Linked DNA regions of Homo sapiens: region 2 is linked to region 1. The links are contacts of gene promoters, found by promoter capture Hi-C in human tissues and cell types (Jung and others, 2019). All regions are on one chromosome and are shown on one strand. The core of a region is centred on a gene start or on the middle of the fragment in contact, and the rest is flanking DNA. Distances in the headings are between cores, read along the strand shown.

The links. Contacts are between HindIII fragments. The study calls those that stand out against the background at their distance.
Region 2: a contact is called between a fragment that was not itself captured here and the fragment with the promoter of ZFP69 in region 1, in 1 of the 25 tissues and cell types used here (adrenal gland).

What each region holds. Positions count from the first base shown.
Region 1 is chr1:40,475,834-40,478,802 of GRCh38, forward strand. It overlaps ZFP69 (ZFP69 zinc finger protein), which reads left to right and starts at 1,457. Exons shown (of 6, transcript NM_001320179.2): 1 at 1,457-2,061. RefSeq lists a silencer at 1,196-1,665. The HindIII fragment of the contact is 19,716 bases long and covers 1-2,969 here.
Region 2 is chr1:39,937,427-39,940,782 of GRCh38, forward strand. No RefSeq gene overlaps it. Among named protein-coding and RNA genes, the nearest start is that of MFSD2A, 16 kb to the right of the region's middle. The HindIII fragment of the contact is 8,075 bases long and covers 1-3,356 here.

The DNA of each region.
Region 1 (2,969 bases), core at 207-2,706:
CATCAACCTGCTGGGCTCAAGCGATCCTCCCATCTCAGCCTCTTGAAGAGCTGGGACTTCAGGGCTGTGCCACCATACCTGGCTAATTTTTGATATTTTGTAGAGACAGGGTTTTGCCATGTTGCCCAGGCTGGTCTTGAACTCCCGAGCTCAAGCAATCCACCTGCCTTGGCCTCCCAAAGTGCTGGGATTATAGACATAAACCACTGTGTCCAGCCCAAGAAAATATTATTTTGCGGTTTGCATCAAATAATTCTAAAAGCAGTTGTTTCTGCAGGTCTATTTCCAATGTTTGTGTTTCTGCTGGTTCTCACTAAGAATCTAGTTTCTTTGTGTACCTGGTTATCTTTAATTCTGTATTTGACATTGTCTATGAAAACTTATGTGTAGGAAAAATGTCGGCCCTACAATTATAAGGCTTTCCTCCACCTATTTGCTTTTGCCAAGCATCTGGTGACACCATAGTCAGAGACAGTCTTAAACCAAGATAATGTCTGAGACAGGCAATTTGATGCAGTCTGTAAATTCCTTTTAAGCTGTTCCATTTTCAATTCATCCTCACCCTGAGGCTGTTGCCCTTTGGGGTCCCAGTTATTGTAAGGAGGGTCTTCTTCTTCTTCTTCTTTTTTTTTTTTTTTTGAGATGGAGTTTTGCTCTTGTCGCTCAGGCATGGAGAAACCCCATCTCTACTAAAAATACAAAATTACAGGCATGGTGATGCGTGCCTGTAATCCCAGCTACTCTGGAGGCTGAGGCAGGAGAATCACTTGAACCCGGGAGGCAGAGGTTGCGGTGAGCCAACATCGCGCCACTGCACTCCAGCTTGGGCAACAAGAGCGAAACTCCGTCTCAAAAACAAATTTATATATTATATATATATGTATATATATATACACATACACACACACACACACACACACGTATTCCAGAATTTTATTTTTAAATTTTATTGTTGTTTTCTACAGTGGGTTGATACAAATATCCTAGCCCATCATCTCCCCACCCTGCTTTCCTTTTCTTCATGGTCCTCACAATCGCCTGGGGTATTATCTATTTATTTTTCTATTTGTTATTGTCAATTAATTTCAATGTAATTAAGTTCCAAGAAAGCAGGAACTGCGTTTTGTTAACTGCTGTATACGCAGGGCCAATAAGAATGTGGGGGTAGATCTTACACACTCAGAATAGATAACTGAATGAATGAATGAATGAATGAGTGAATGAATGAATGACAGGGAAGGCGCTTCACCGGAAAGGCTGAAGGAGGTCTCCCAAGGACCGCTGTGAGGAAACGGGGGGCGGCGTGGGTGGGTGGCCGCTACCCACGGTTCCGGACGGCCCTCGGGGGCGCGCTCGGGCGGCTTCCAGCTTCCGGGTTCGAGGGCGCGCGCTGCTTCCCGGGAGAGGGCGGGCTCCGTGGCAGCCCCCTGTGGGCGGAGCCGGCGGCCGGGGCTCACAACCCGCCGGAAGACGCGCGGGTTGTGGCAGCTGCAGCGGGACCGCGTGGGGTGGGCCCCGGGACCGCCAGGGCTGCAGCGAGAGCGGCCGGCGGTGCAAGCGGCCGGGAGGGCGCGGCCGGAGGCAGAGGCCAGGCGAGACACCCGGCTGCGGCCTAAGAGGCCAGGCTGGGTGGGCTTGGCTGCAGCCGCCAGCCCCGTGTTAAAGCGGCAGCCAGGGAGGTGTATCCTCCCCGGGGTCTGCAAGACGCCGGCTCAGGGCATCCCTCCCATTCCGGCCCTCAAAGCCTCGCTCCTGGGGGCGCTGCTGGGAAAGCCCACCCGCCTGGGCGGGCCCTTGATGGGAATGTGGAGCAGACCCTCGTCCACTCCGGAGGCCGAGGGTCCTCCGGGCTTCCGAAGGAAGCCGACCTCAACGCTGGACGCTTCTTGGAGAATGATTGCGTTGAGTGGAGATGTGGTCTGTCTATAAAAGGCCGGGAGGGAACAATATCTGTTACCACTCAGTCCGTCTCTAAAGAGACACTCTTTACCGCTGAAAACCTCAAGAGTGAGCACTCCCACGCCCCCGTCTCTGGTCCTACCTGGGTCCAAGGCCGATGTGGTGAGTAGGAGTCTGTGTGCAGTCTTTGAGTCCGAGGGTGGCATGTCTGGGAGCACTGTGAGGGTGGGGCATCTTCGATATGAAGCTTCTCAGCCATTAACTGTTTCCCGAGTAAGATTCGAAAATTCGTGCACTTTGGTAACAAGACTTTTTATGTATTCAGGGGTGGGATATTTCTCACAAGCTCCAATTCCTAGAACACACGCAGCTCCTGTCTCTGCATATAGTCACACACACACACACACACACACACACGCCTATAAGTCACATACCCATCCTTCTCCAACAAACTTCAAAAAGTTGGGCCAGCTCCCTTCCCACGTAGCTCCGACTGTTCTTGGAGTGCCGTATACTTTGGACCTGGTCACGGTCAAAGCACCTGCTCAGATTCTAGGGTTTGGTTGAGATGATGGATTTGAGTTGTTTCCAAATTTGCCTATTACTATTCTGCAGTAGTCCTCATTATACTAAATTTACACCATTTGAAGACATACCCTCTTCCCCAATTTTAACATTTCTGAAACCAAGATGCATCTTCCCAGTGTGGTTCCAAGGAACTTGCCAGCTGCTGGGCATCTGCGTGGGTGGTGACGTGGCTGTCACTGCTTGTTCATGCCAAAATGCAGCTATGTCATTATTCTGTCAGTTGAGATATTTTGAACTTTAAATTCAGATTTAATGGTTTCTAAAAATAACTTTAAAAATTAATACTATGATTCAGCAATATGATAACAGGTTTATAACAATGTTCATTAAGGGTTTACTGTATGCCTAGCATTGTCTCAACCAACATTACAACTCTATAGAATACAATTATTATCTCCATTTTATAGATTAAGAAACTGAAGCTGAGAGTTGAAGTGTCATAGAGCTTTTAAGTGCAAGTGTCAGGTTTCTAAGCCAGGCTG
Region 2 (3,356 bases), core at 828-3,327, 540 kb before region 1:
AGAACTCACTCCAAAGAACCTAGGATAGACTCCATCTTAGCTCCAGAACTGAGTCCAGCCTAATAGTCATTGTGGCCTAGAATCCTAACCCCAGCCTAGCAGTTCCTTGATGCTCCTCCTAGAGGCAGCCCCAAAGAAAGAAGCCAAGCCTGCACATTCAGGAGGGGAGATTCCAGACCCCAACCCTACTACTGGCAGGAGAAAACAAGGGAATGGTGTTTGTGTGTGTTAGAAGGGGAATGTTCTGTGGTCCTCCTGGTAGTGGTCTGGAGGGTATATCCTGGGGATTCAGAGACCAGGCAAAACATGGCCTGGGGTTTTCTCTGCAAGGGCTCCCCCTCAGAACCCCAAGGGGATAGAATGCAGAGGGCTGGCACTGCTAAATTGCAGTGTGACCTTGGACAAGGCCCTTACCTTCTCTGGGTTTACTTTTCCCAGAAAGGAAATCAAGAGGAAATCAGAAGATGCTTTATTTAGACCCACAGACCCAGAAACATGGAGGAAGGGACTATTACAGATAAGCCTTTTAATCGTGTCTTTTCTTTTTAGTGACAGGTCTTGCTATGTTGTTTAGGCTGGTCTTGAACTCCTGGGCTCAAGAAATCCTCCTGCCTCAGCCTCCCGGGTAGCTGAGACTATAGACATGCACTACCATGCCCAGCTAATTCATTTATTCTTTTATTCGTCAAACAGTTATTGAGCACATATAATAAGTAGATTTATATTATTTAATTTTTTAAATTTGTTTTAGAGACAGAGTCTTGCTGTGTTGCCTAGGATGGAGTGCAGTGGTGCCATCATAGCTCACTGCAGCCTCGAACTCCTGGGCCGAAGTGATCCTCCCGCCTCAGCTTCCTGAGTAGCTAGACTACAGGTGCACGTCACCATGCCCAGGTAATTATTTTATTTTTGTAGATACAGGATCTCAGTGTGTTGTCTGGGTTGGTCTTGAACCCCTGGGCTCATGCCATCCTCCCACCTCAGCCTCCCAAAGTGCTGGGATTACAGGTGCCGGCCCAATAAGTAGATTTTATTTTTTATTTTTCTTTTCTTTTTTTTTTTGTTGAGACTGAGTTTCACTCTTGTTGCCCAGGCTGGAGTGCAATGGTGCAATCTCAGCTCACTGCAACCTCCGCCTTCCAAGTTCAAGCGATTCTCATGCCTCAGTCTCCTGAGTAGCTGGGATTATAGGCATGTGCCACCACACCCGGCTAATTTTTTTGTATTTTTAGTAGAGACGGGGTTTCTCCACGTTGGTCAGGCTGGTCTCAAACTCCTGACCTCAGGTGATCCGCCCGCCTTGGCCTCCCAAAGTGCTGGGATTACAGGTGTGAGCCACCACGCCCAGTGACAGTAAGTAGATTTTAAACAGGGGCATAAAATGGTCTGATTTTATTTTAAAAATTGGTCTGTTTTTGGAGATGGGATCAGAGGGGAACACTTAGGCATTGCTGCAACAGTCCAGAAGAGATGGGATGAAGGTCTGAAGATAGCAAGTGGCAGTGTCATCTTTATAAAGCACAGATGTGGTCATTTGACTCTTCTGTTAAGAATCCTTTCGGTGGCTCCCCACAGTCTTCAGGATGAGAATGCAAGGCCTCCTTCTATCTTCTTGGCCTCAGGGGCCACCAGTTTCCCATACAGCAGCCCAAGCTGCTCACTGATTCCGCTCCCCACACCCTCCATCATGCCTCCATGTCTGTGGTGTTCCCTTTGCCGGGCATGCCCTTACCCATCACGGGAACTCCTTCTCAACCTTCCGCGCTCAGCTCCATTATCACCTCCTCTGTTAAGCTTTGCCAGACCACCACGCCCAAACGGAATCTGGTGTTCTCAGTTTTGTACATGCAGGCCTTTGCCAAATCATTTTGTTAGTTAGTTTGTTTTTTCACAGAGTCTCGCTCTCTGTCGCCCAGGCTGGAGTGCAGTGGCGCAATCATATCTCACCGTAACCTCCACCTCCTGAGCAATCCTCCCATCTCAGCCTCCTGAGTGGCTAGGACTACAGGGGTGCACCACCACACCCCAGCTCACTTTTTTATTTTTTATTTTTCATAGAGACAGGATCTCCCTATGTTGCCCAGGCCCCTGTCATCCTAGCTACTCAGGAGGCTGAGGTGGCAGAATTGCTTGAGCCCAGGAGGTGGAGGTTGCATTGAGCCATGATCATGCCACTGTACTCCAGCCTGGGTGACAGAGTGAGACTCTGTGAAAAAAACAATTAAATCAATAATAAAAATCTCCCTATGTTGCCCAGGAGTTCAAGCCCAGGACAACATAAGGAGATTTTTGTTCTTTTATTTTTGAGATCCTCCCTATGTTGCCCTGGTCTCGAACTCCTGAGCTCAAGAGATGCTCCTGCCTTGGCCTCCCAAAGTGTTGGGATTATAGGTGTGAGCCACTGTGCCTGGGCCAAAATAATTTTGTAACAGTCTGCTGTGTTTATCTCCACAACTAGATGTGACTCCTTCAAAGGACAAGATCATCCATACCTCATTCATATATATTGCTGGGTGGGCCAAGAGTAAATTTAATGAATATATTGACAAGGCCACCTTTATATCTCCAAGTATCCTTTTACATAATTTTTTTCCTTAAGGTTCCCATGTTCTACATTTTTAATCTTGGAACATGGTAAGGAACTTGTTTTGCCATTTTCTATTAATCGAAGACATATATCCTGCCAATCAGAGGGAAAGGATAAAGGAACAAAATGAACATTTGTTGAGAGCGAACTGTAACGCTTGTTTTGCACACATATTGTCTCACTGGATCCTGAGGATGCCACTATGAGGTATTATTACAGATCATATAAATAAGACTCAGAGAAGTTGTGACCTGCCTAAAGTCACATGGCTAGCTAGTGACAGAAATGGATTCAAACCCTGATGGGGCTGACTCCAGGCCCACATAGCCCCACCTATGCTGTTATCTCTTGCTCTTAATCAGCATGAGATCACAGCGTCGCTGTGCTGATTCTGAAGCCAGCCACCCAGAGCTGGAGGTCTTGGCTTGCCACAGTGGAGGAAGTAGCCGTCACAAAGCTCTGGGTTGCCCAACATGCTTTTTGTGCAGATGGGCAAAAGGAGGCCCGAAGAGGGGGAACGACTCCAGGGGTGCCCAAGGCAGATTCTGCTTCTGCCACCCTGGTCTGAGTCCAGCAAGTCACTTACTCTAAAAGGCCCTTCCAACTCTGAGAGGGTCCAGGCTAGCAGACCAAGGCAATGTCTCCTTGCAGGAATGTGGTGTGAGCATGAGGGCAGGGCTCTGGGCAGCCAGGAAGAAAGAGGTATTCCTCAGGCTTCAGCCCCCTCGCTGTCCTCTGAGGCCACCCGGTAGCTTGGTCCAACCACTGG